Linked DNA regions of Homo sapiens: region 2 is linked to region 1. Evidence: promoter capture Hi-C in human tissues and cell types (Jung and others, 2019). All regions are on one chromosome and are shown on one strand. Each heading gives the region's core, a stretch centred on a gene start or on the middle of the fragment in contact. The rest is flanking DNA. Distances are from core to core; before and after follow the strand shown.

Region 1 (5,657 bases), core at 1,336-3,835:
GGCGGCAGAGAAGAGAATGAGAGCCAAGCGAAGGGGGTTTCCCCTTATAAGACCATCAGATCTCATGAGACTTATTCACTACCATGAGAACAGTATGGGGGAAACTGCCCCCATGATTCGATAATCTCCCACCGGGTCCCTCCCACAACACGAGGGAATTATGGGAGCTACAATTCAAGATGAGATTTGGGTGGGGACACAGCCAAACCATATCAGGAGTTTATGGATTCCCTACAACCCAACTAACTTGGAGAGAAGAGGCAACTGCCCAGATGATTTGCATAAAGTGAGCTTTTGAATGAATCACCTGCGAACTAAATATGCTACCATGTGGACAATGACAATCAACGGCACGAAGCAAATGCTCGCTAAAATCAGCATTGTTATTCATGGTGCTTCAGTTCTTCATTTTGCTTTGTTCATCAAACTCAGCTCCTTCTGAGGTCATTTCTGAATGGTTCCATCTCTAATATTTAATATAATATAAAATAATATAATAATAATATTAACTTTTTTTTTTTTTCAAGACAGAGTCTTGCTCTGTCGCCCAGGCTGGAGTGCAGTGGCGTGATCTCCGCTCACTGCAAGCTCTGCCTCCCGGGTTCACGCCATTCTCCTGCCTCAGCCTCCCGAGTAGCTGGGACTATAGGCACCCCCTACCACGCCCGGCTAATTTTTTTGTATTTTTAGTAGAGACGGGGTTTCACCGTGTTAGCCAGGATGGTCTCGATCTCCTGACCTCGTGATCTGCCTGCCTCGGCCTCCCAAAGTGCTGGGATTACAGGCATGAGCCACCGCACCCGGCCTCTTTTTTTTTTTTTTTTTTGAGACAGGGTTTCAGACTGTCATCCAGGCTGAGTGCATGGCATGATCACAGTTCACTGCAGCCTTGATCACCCTAGCTCAAGTGATCCTCCCACTTTAGCCTCTGGAGTAGCTGGGACCACAGGCATGTGCCACCATATCTAGCTACTTTTTAATTTTTTTGGTGGGGGGGTCACACTATGTTGCTCATGCTGGTCTCAAGCTCCTAGTCTCAAGGGATCCTCCCACCTTGGCCTTCCAAAGTGCTAGGATTATAGGCACAAGCCACCATGCCCAGCCCAGTTTGTTCTTTTTTAATCTGGAGTAAACTCTATCCAAATAATGTTTTACCAAAGGAATCTGGGAATTAATTCATAAGAAGGAAGAGCTTCCTCCATTTTTCAAAAAAGTGTAACTATGTATAAGTCAATCTGCATGGTTACTTCTACGTGCATTTTGTAAAGCCATGACAATTTAAAAAAAGGCACATGCGACCTTGAGGACAGACCTATCTGTTGTCTTTCACTGCAAGACCTACAGCAAATACTCCTCTCTGTCCATCAACTAAATTATTTTCTCCCAATGAATCATGCTTCCTAGAGTTACCACTTTGAGATATCATGCAAGAATGGCATCTAAAACCAGGACTTTGTTATGGGCATTCAGATACATTTTCGGTCAAGGACAGTGCCATTTTGAGTTACCAGTTGCCAAGGTGACAGTATTCAGTGCTATAGAAATGGGTAATTGACTGAATGGATCAATGACAAGCTGTAGCTAGGGTTTCTTCATGGTGCCTGAGGCTTCTGTGAACAGCTACGAAATTATTCTAACTACATCCATAAATGTTTCTGTAAGCTTTTTGGCTGTCTAGGCAAGAAAAGAAACAATCCTTCAGCAGATAATGTTTTCTAAACAGAGAACACATGAGATGATTATGCTATCGAAACCCAGAAAACCTGTCCTTGGAAGTCTTTATGCTTAGAATTAACTCCTGGAAAGAGGCAATAGGTTTGACACTCAAGTTCTGTCTTCCATCTTCCCAGGAGAGCTTTACCATTGTCTACCTGATAATAAAAACAGCTGTCTTAGCTTCTTAAAATGATCATTACCTGGGACAAGTTGGGCTTATCGCATTTAAAAGGAAACACAAGGTATCTAGGGTAATGAAGAAAATGTACCAATAGTCTTACATGTAAGGCCAATTATTACCTACAATTTCCTTCAACATGAGGTCACCATCTATTATTTAAGACCCAACCATGCTAACACAGTAGCCACTAGCCACATGTGGCTATTTAAATTAATGAAAATTCAGTCAAATTTACAATTCAGTTCCCCAGGAACCAGCCACAGTTTAACCACTCAGTAGTCACACATAGCCAAGAGCTCTTGCATTAGGCAGTGCTAACAGAGACCATTTCTGTCTTTATTGCACAGCACGCTGTTCTAGACCAATGTGAAATGAATCGGTAACTCTCCCATGCTTTGGTTCTAAATCATCGTACTTGCCCCCAGCAACAGAAGGGAGATATCTACATGATCATCTTAACATAGAATTTTTCATCAAATAAATTCAGAATCTTATTCACACGCCCAGTTCTCTCTCCAGGCCTAGCAGAGGCCCAGCATTATAGCCATTTGGAAAGTTCTTGGTAGAAAAGAGGTCACCAGGTGTAACCACCTTCTAGTGTTCAAGTCACATTACCTTGGATTCCATCACGCACAGAGGGAGAGCAGGTTGTTAACAACTATTCCTCTTGAGCCATTCAAAAGTTGCTTCCCACTGACTTATGATTCTGTGATGCCTGACATCCAGCAACAAGGTATGAGGCGATTCTAGCTTGCGGGGTGGAGCTAAGTTAATAATTTACGGTGGGAGGCAGAAACTGCATCTTATGGCCGTCTACATGTAGGCACACCGGGCTGCTCCAGGGAGATAAGAACTGGAAACCCAACCTCCCTTGAGTTTACGTTACAGACACTGCTGATCTTTGATTAGTTGCTTATGTTCCTGACCAGTCACTGACTATTGAAATAATGGCAGGACCCTCGGTGAGCTATGCTTAAAAAAAAAGAAAAAAAGAAAAAAAAAAGAAAAGAAAATTCTCCCAATCTCTTAGCCTAGGATCCAGCTCCAGGGAACTCCTGCTGGAAGTACCTGTTGGCTCTGTTTGAAAAACTTTACAGCCTTAAATTTCATGGAATCAAGTTGATTGGGTAACTTCAAGGTTTCATAATACGGAGACTCAGGACTTTACTTTCATTTTATTATTATTTTCAGATGCTGAAGTGATGCAGGGGCACTATCATCTCATAAAAAATCACAAGGTTGCTGATATTGGAGGCTGTTCAGTTACAGATGGGTTTACCATGAAGCTCAGAGTTCACCCCTTCCTGGTCTGGGCCTCATCGTATAAAGTTCTATTCTTGTTCTTTCAGACAACCCCACCCATCACCCACCACATTGTATGCCTTGGGCCCCCAAACTTGAGCCTGCTGCTGCAACAGGATCATGGCTAAGGGTATGGACAGTGGATTCAGTGCTGGGTTCATTCGAACCTAAACAGCACCCCCTGTTGGATGGAGGACTGTGGGTCCAGCGACTGACCTCAGGATTTCATTTATTAATCCCATTTCATGTATCTCTCTCTCTGTATATATATCCTATTGGAGAACCCCTAACACAAGCCCTGACAAGAGCAGAAATATGCTAATAATTCTTTGGACACTCTAATTTTTGATCAATTGACTTTTTTAAAGAAATGATTCCATTTTTGTAACTGAATAGGTAATATAACATATCCTTGATTTGGTTACAAAGGGACAACCAGAAATAGTATACTAAAAATGTTTTTTAAAAATATATAATTTTATAGACATATATTTTAGTTTTTAAATATAATTTATTTTTTTCTTGAGATGGAGCCTTGCTCTGTTGCCCAGGCTGGAGCACAATGGCAGGATCTCAGTTCACTGCAACCTCCGCCCCCCAGGTTCAAGTGATTCTCCTGCCTCAGCCTCCTGAGTAGCTGGGATTACAAGGCACCCGCCACAACGCCCAGCTAACTTTTGTATTTTTAGTAGAGATAAGGTTTCACCATGTTGACCAGGCTGGTCTCGAACTCCTGACTTCAAGTGATCCACCTGCCTCAGCCTCCCAAAGTGCTGGAATTACAGGTGTGGGCCATCGCGCCTGGCCTATATGATTCTTCATACATTTTTGCATATCTGAAATATATTTTTAATTGAAATATAAATCACGTATAACATTCACTTATTTATACAGTTCATTGTTTTTTAAGTACAGTTGTACCTCAGTATCTGTGGGGGATTGGTTCCAGGACCTTCAAAAATCCATGGATGCTCAATTGCCTGATATAAAATGGCATAGTATTTGCATATAACCTATGCACATCCTCCTGTACACTTTAAATCATTGTCAGATTACTTATAATACCTAGTAGAATGTAAATGCCATGTAAATAGTTGTTATACTACATTGTCTAGGCAACAATGACAAAAAAGTGTCTGTACATCTTCATACAGATGAAAATTTTTCCCTGAATACTTTTGATCCAAGGTTGGTTGAATTCATGGAATTGGAACCCATAAATATGGAGGGACTATTATAGATTCACAATGTTGTGCAATCATCATCACTATTTAATTCAAGAACATTTTCATGACCCCCAAAAGAAATCCTATATCCATTATCTATGATCTCCCTTTTCCCCACCCTAGCACCTTGAAACCACTAATCTGCTGTCTCTATACATTTGGCCTATCATGGACATTTCATATGAACACAGTCATACAATATGTGACCTTTCATGACTGGCTTCTTTCACTTAGCATTGTGTCTTCAAGTTTCATCCATGTTTTAGCATGAACCAGTACACTTCATTTTTATTGCCACATAATGCCTCTGGTATGGATATACCACATTTTGTTTATCCATCAGTTGATGCACATTTGGGTTTTTTCCACTTTTTGGCTATTGCAAATAATGCTATCAACATTCAGGTGCAAATTTTTGTGTGGACTTGTTTTCATTTCTCTTGGGTATATACCTAGGAGTGGAATTGCTGGGTTACGTGTTAACTCTATGTTTAACTTTTTAAGGACCTGCCAAACTGTTTTCTAAACTGGCCACATCATTTTACATTCCCACCAAGAATGTATGAGGTTTCCATTTTCTCCGAATTCTTGCCAACACCTGTTATTGTTGTTCACCTTTTTTATTCTAGCCAAGCTAGTTGATGTGCAGTGGTATCTCATTGTGGTTTTGATTTACATTTCACTGATGACTAACGATGCTAAGCATCTTTTCATGTGTATTTGCCATTTCTATACCTTTTTTGGAGAACTGTCTATGCAAATCCTTCGCCCATTTTCAAGATGGGTTCTTTGTCTTTTTGTTGTTGAGTTGTAGAAGCTCCTTATATATTCTGGATACTAGAACTTTATCTGACACTGTATATGATTTGCAAATATTTTCTCATTCTGTAGGTTGTCTTTTCACTTTCTTGATAGTATCCTTTGAAACACAAAAGACTTAAACTTTGATGAAGCCTAATTTATCTATTTTTTTACCTTTGGTTTCTTGTGTTTTAAGTATAATGTCTAAGAAACCATTGCATAATTCAAGGTCACAAAGATGTACACCTGTGTTTTCTTCTAATAGTTTTATAGTTAATTCATTTTGAGTAAGTTTTTGTGTATTATGTGAAGGAGACATCTAACTTTATAACATTGCATGTGGCATGTCGCTCCAGCATCATTTGTTGAAAAATTATTCTTTCCCCCATTGAGTCATCTTGGCTCCCTTGTCGAAAATCAATTGACCATAA
Region 2 (5,657 bases), core at 2,329-4,828, 1.4 Mb before region 1:
GCCCAGTGGCCGATCATCAACTTCCGCTGTGAACAGCTTTCAGTAGTTTTCCAGAGTGCTGGCAAGGAAGACTTGACTTGAGGATTGGACACCAGGAAAATTGCCAGAATAATGTGTGTGTGTTGGGGGGGTTATAACAGGATGTGTTTATTTTGTTTGTTTGTTTTTTGTGTTTTCTTTTCCCTTTGCTTTTTTGTTTCTTTTCTTTTTGGAAACCATCTCAAACAGTATATTTATTTCTTGATAAACTATCTCAGGCATTAAAATGATAGATAATACAAACACTGGAAATAACCCAAATGCCTGCCAACAGGTGAATGGATGGACATATTCTTTTTGTTGTTGTTGTTGTTGTTTGAGACAGGGTCTCAGTTGCCCACGCTGGAGTGCAGTGGCACAATCACAGCTCACTGCAGCCTCCACATCCTGGGCTCAAGGCCTCCTGCCTCAGCCTCCTGAGTAGTTAGGACTACAGGTGTGGGCCACTACTTTTAGCCAAATTTTTTTTTTTTTTTTTTTTTTTTTAGAGACAGGGTTTCACTATGTTGCCGGGCTCCAAATAGGTGTCTTTTTTTAGATTCTCCTGCCTCAGCCTCCCGAATAGTTGGGATTACAGGCGCCCACCATGCCCAGCTAATTTTTGTCTTTTTAGCAGAGACAGGGTTTCACCATATTGGCCAGGCTGGTCTCAAACTCCTGACCTCAAGTGATCTGCCCACCTTGGCCTCTCAAAGTGCTGGGATTACAGGCGTGAGCCACCGTGCCTGGTCCATATTATTTTTTTAAAAAATAGGGATGGAATCTCACTATTGTGACCAGCCTGTCTCAAATTCCTGGCCTCAAGCCATTCTCCCATCTCGGCCTCCCAAAGTGCTGGGATTACAAGTATGAGCCACCGTGCCCAGCCTAAAATCTTTTTTTTTCCTTTCTTTTTTTTTTGAGACAGAGTCTAGCTTTGTCACCTACGCTGGAGTGCAGTGGCCAGGATCTTGGCTCACCACAACCTCTGTCTCCCAGGTTCCAGCAATTCTCCTGCCTCAGCTTCCTGAGTAGCTGGGATTACAGGTGTGTGCCAGCTAATTTTTTGTATTTTTCATAGAGACAGTTTTCACCATGTTGGCCAGGCTGGTATCAAACTCCTGACCTCAAATGATCTGCCTGCCTTGGCCTCCCAAAATGCTGGGGTTACAGGCATGAGCCACCATGCCCCGCCTAAAATATCTTTCTTAAAGCACATTGCGGCCCCCAAAAAGTTTGAAAACCCTGCCCTAAATATGTGACATTGTTTTCCCATTTTAAACTTTTATGTAAGTAGCATCATCCAGCCCAAATGCTTCCCCCAGCTGGCTTTTGCTTCATTGATATTAGCTTTGAGATGAATCCATGTTGATACACGTAGCTCAGTTTCCTTCCTTTCCATCACCGCCTAAACATGCTGCAAGTTATTTCTCCGTCATCCTATGATTGGATTTTTTTTTTTTTTTTTTTTTTTTTTGCCAAATGGGACATTTAAAAAATAGCTATCTCTCACTATTACCACCTTTCTTACTTGGAAGGACATTTTAATATAAATAAAGTCAGAATGTCCTGCTCTCAGAAGCAAAGCCGGTCTTTTAAACGAAATAAATCTGGCTTTATGAAAACTCATTCCACCTGCCCCTGAGGGTTAAGGCTGTTGGTTTTCTTCCTTGTTGACTGTTAGTTTGTTTATTAGATGTTGTAACCTAGTGAAAACATAGTCACCTACACAACAATATTAGGCTGCCTGGTGCTACCTCTGGGGAAGGAAAGGGGAAGCGAATAGGATGGAGATGGGATTCAAAGAGAGTAGACTGGGCATGGTGGCTCACGCCTGTAATCCCAGCACTTTGGGAGGCCAAGGTGGGTGGATTACTTGAGGTCAGGAGTTTAAGACCAGCCTGACCAACATGGCGAAACCCAGTCTCTACTAAAAATACAAAAATTAGCCAGGTGTGGTGGGCACCTGTAATCCCAACTACTTGGGCGGCTGAGGCAGGAGAATCGCTTGAACCTGGGAGGTGGAGGTTACAGTGAGCCAAGATCGCACCATTGCACTACAGCCTGGGCGACAGAGCAAGACTCCGTCTCAAAAAAAAAAAAAAAAAAAAAAGTGTCAACCATAATACTTCATTTCCTTTCTTACCTAAAAAAAAAATAAAGAAAAAAAACTAAGTCAAATATGGCCAAATGTTAACATTTGGAATCTCTGGAGTGTGAAGAGGGGTATCTATATGCAAGTACTTTAAGCTTTAAATAGTTCATTGCATTTTTTTCATTACCAATCTATACTTCGCTCCAAGTTCTAAATAGTTCATTACAATGTTTTTTTCTTTTTCTTTTTTTTTTTTTTTTGAGATGGAGTCTCACTCTGTCACCCAGGCTGGAGTGCAGTGGTGCTGTCTCAGCTCACTGCAGCCTCCACCTCTCAGGTTCAAGTGATTCTCCTGCCTCAGCCTTCTGAGTAGCTGGGACTACAGGCGTCCACCACCACACCCAGCTAATTTTTGTATTTCTAGTAGAGATGGGGTTTCACCATGTTGGCCAGGCTGGTTTCGAACTCCTGACCTCAGGGATCCACCTGCCTTGGACTCCCAAAGCGCTGCGATTACAGGCGTGAGCCACCGTGCCCAGCCAAAACATGTTTTTTAAGGAATGGGGTCTCACTACATTGTTCAGGCTAGTCTCAAACTCCTGGGCTTGAAGCAATCCTCTCACCTTGGCCTCCCAAAATGCTGGAATTACAGGTGTGAGCCACCACACTGGCCAGAAGACATCTTTTATTGTCATGATTGGAGAAGAGGGGCATGCTACTTGTATCTGGTGGGTAGAAATCAGGGATGCCGCTAAACACCATGTAGTACACAGGACAGAACCCGCTCGACAGAGAACGATCTAGCCCAAAACGTCAATAGCGCCCAGGTCAACAATCCCTGCTCTAAAGTGAGCCTCCCTTTGCCAGACTTTGTTCCAAATGGCAGTGCGATCCACCCTCCAGATGCTGGGATAGCTTGTTTCTTTCCCGACCACAGAGTGAGTCATTTTGTGATGCTAAGGAACATTTAGCAAGGCGATAATCATCCTAGTTTCACTGTTGGATAATTCCAGATGAAAGTGTATTTGGGGCCTTCTCAAAGAAAGACACACCCAACGACAATGAAGGCTCTGTGAAGGCCAAGGCTGGTGCAAGAGGTTTTGAACAGCCCATCTAAATCCCCCTGCTCCAAGAAGGCTCCTGGGAACATCCCAAAGAATCTGCTCTCCCTGATCCCTAAGAACATAACTTCTGTGTTTGGAGGAAGAAGTGTGACATCAGATTCCCTGGGTTTAAATCCTGGCTCTGGCCCTCCCCAGCTGGGTTATAAATTATTTCCCTTGGCGAAACCTAACTCCTAAAATAGTGTGAAGATTAAAATGAGCATGCATGCAGGGCGCAATGGCTCAAGCCTGTAATCCCAGCACTTTGGGAGGCTGAGACAGGAGGATCGCTTGAGCCCAGGAGTTCAACATCAGCCTGGGCAACATAGCGAGACCCTATCTCTACAAAAAAAAAAAAAAATCAGAAAAATTAGGGCAGGCATGGTGGCTCATGCCTGTAATCCCAGAATTTTGGGAGGCCGAGGCAGGTGGATCACCTGAGGTCAGGAGTTCAAGACCAGCCTACAAAAATATTAGCCAGGTGTGGTGGTGCATGCTTGTCCTCCCAGCTACTCTATACTCTGGAGGGTGAGGCAGGAGAATCGCTTGAACCCAGGAGGCAGAGGTTGCAGTGAACGGAGATCATGCCACTGCATTCTACCCTGGGTGACAGAGTAAGACTTCGTTTCAAAAATAAAATAAAATGAGCATGCATGAAAGGCCATGAGCATAGAGATTGGCACACAGAAAACACTCAATAAATGCCAGCTATTATCACTGTTATTGTCATCATTATTCCTGTTAGCACCCTAAGTACATTGGAAGATACATTCTCACGATCACATTCTGAGATGGGTAATAATGTCCCCATTTTGCAGATTAGAAAACTAAGACTAATCAGTAAAGCCACCATATATATATAATATATGTATACACACACACACACACGCACACACATATATACATTTACAAGTATAAATATATATACATTTACAAGTATAAATATATACATTTACAAGTATAAATATATATACATTTACAAGTATAAATATATATACATTTATAAGTATAAATATATATACATTTATAAGTATATATACGTTTATAAATATAAATATATATACATTTATAAACATAAATACATATATTTATATATATAAATATATAAAATGGACATTTACTTTATACATGTGTATACTTTATATTTTATACATATATACATATATGTATATATGTGTATACATACATACAGATGTGTGTGTATGTGTATACATACAGATGTGTGTATATGTGTATATATGTACATATATATGTATGTATGTGTATATATACACATATATACACATACATATATACATGTGTGTATATATATATATACACACACACACATATATATATTACACAATTTCACTCTGTCACCCAGGCTGGAGTGCAGTGCTGAAATCTTGGCTCACTGCAACCTCCGTCTCCTGAGTTCAAGAGATTCTCCTGCCTCAGCCTCTGGAGTAGCTGGGATTACAGGCACCCACCACCATGCCCGCCTAATTTTTGTATTAGATGTAGAGATGAGTTTCGCCATGTTGGCCAGGCTGGCCTCGAACTCCTGACCTCAAGTGATCCGCCTGCATCAGCCTCCCAAAGTGCTGGGATTACAGGCATGAGCCACCGCTCCCGGCTAAAGCCACATTTTTCAACAGCCTGCTCTCTAGTCTCATAGCTTCCTCTCCTTCTCACCTACAGTCCATTCTCCTCACGGAAACCAAAGAAATCTTTTAAAAATGTAGGCTGTGCGCGGTGGTTCACGCCTGTAATCCCAGCACTTTGGGAGGCCGAGGTGGGAGGATCACCTGAGGTCAGGAGTTCGAGACCAGCCAGGCCAACATTAGCCAGGCATGATGGCAGGTGCCTGTAATCCCAGCTGCTCGGGAGGCTGAGGTGGGAGAATCGCTTGAACCCGGGAGGTGGAGGTTGCAGTGAGCCGAGATCATGCCATTGCACTTCAGCCTGGGTGACAGAGTAAGACTCTGTCTCAAAAAAAAAAAAAATGCAATCAGAGCTAAGCATGGAGGTGTGCACCTATAGTCCCAGTTACTTGGGTAGGAAGTAACTGTCCAGGAGTTCGTGTCCAGCCTGGGCACCATAGTAAAACCTGATCTTGGCCAGGCTCGGTGGTTCACACCTATAATCCTAGCACTTTGGGAGGCCAAGGTGGGTGGATCACTTGAGGTCAGGAGTTCGAGACCAGCCTGATCAACATGTAGAAGCCCCGTCTCTACTAAAAATACAAAATTTGCTGTGCGTGGTGGCACATGCCTGTAATCCCAGCTACTTGGGAGGCTGAGGCAGGAGAATCGCTTGAACCTGGGAGGCGGAGGTTGCAGTGAGATGAGATCGCGCCATTGCACTCCAGCCTGGACGACAAGAGCGAAACTCCATCTCAGAAACAAAACAAAACAAAACCCGATCTTTCAAAACACATACACACAATCAGACCTTATTTT

The links. The method cuts DNA at HindIII sites, captures the fragments that hold promoters and counts their contacts. A contact is called where the count stands out against the background at its distance.
Region 2: a contact is called between a fragment that was not itself captured here and the fragment with the promoter of MYO1H in region 1, in 1 of the 25 tissues and cell types used here (H1 embryonic stem cells).

Annotation. Positions count from the first base shown.
Region 1 is chr12:109,344,828-109,350,484 of GRCh38, reverse strand. It overlaps MYO1H (myosin IH), which reads right to left and starts at 2,585. Exons shown (of 32, transcript NM_001101421.4): 1 at 2,513-2,585. The coding sequence starts at 2,524. The HindIII fragment of the contact is 9,124 bases long and covers 454-5,657 here.
Region 2 is chr12:110,748,690-110,754,346 of GRCh38, reverse strand. No RefSeq gene overlaps it. Among named protein-coding and RNA genes, the nearest start is that of PPP1CC, 8.6 kb to the right of the region's middle. The HindIII fragment of the contact is 5,871 bases long and covers 643-5,657 here.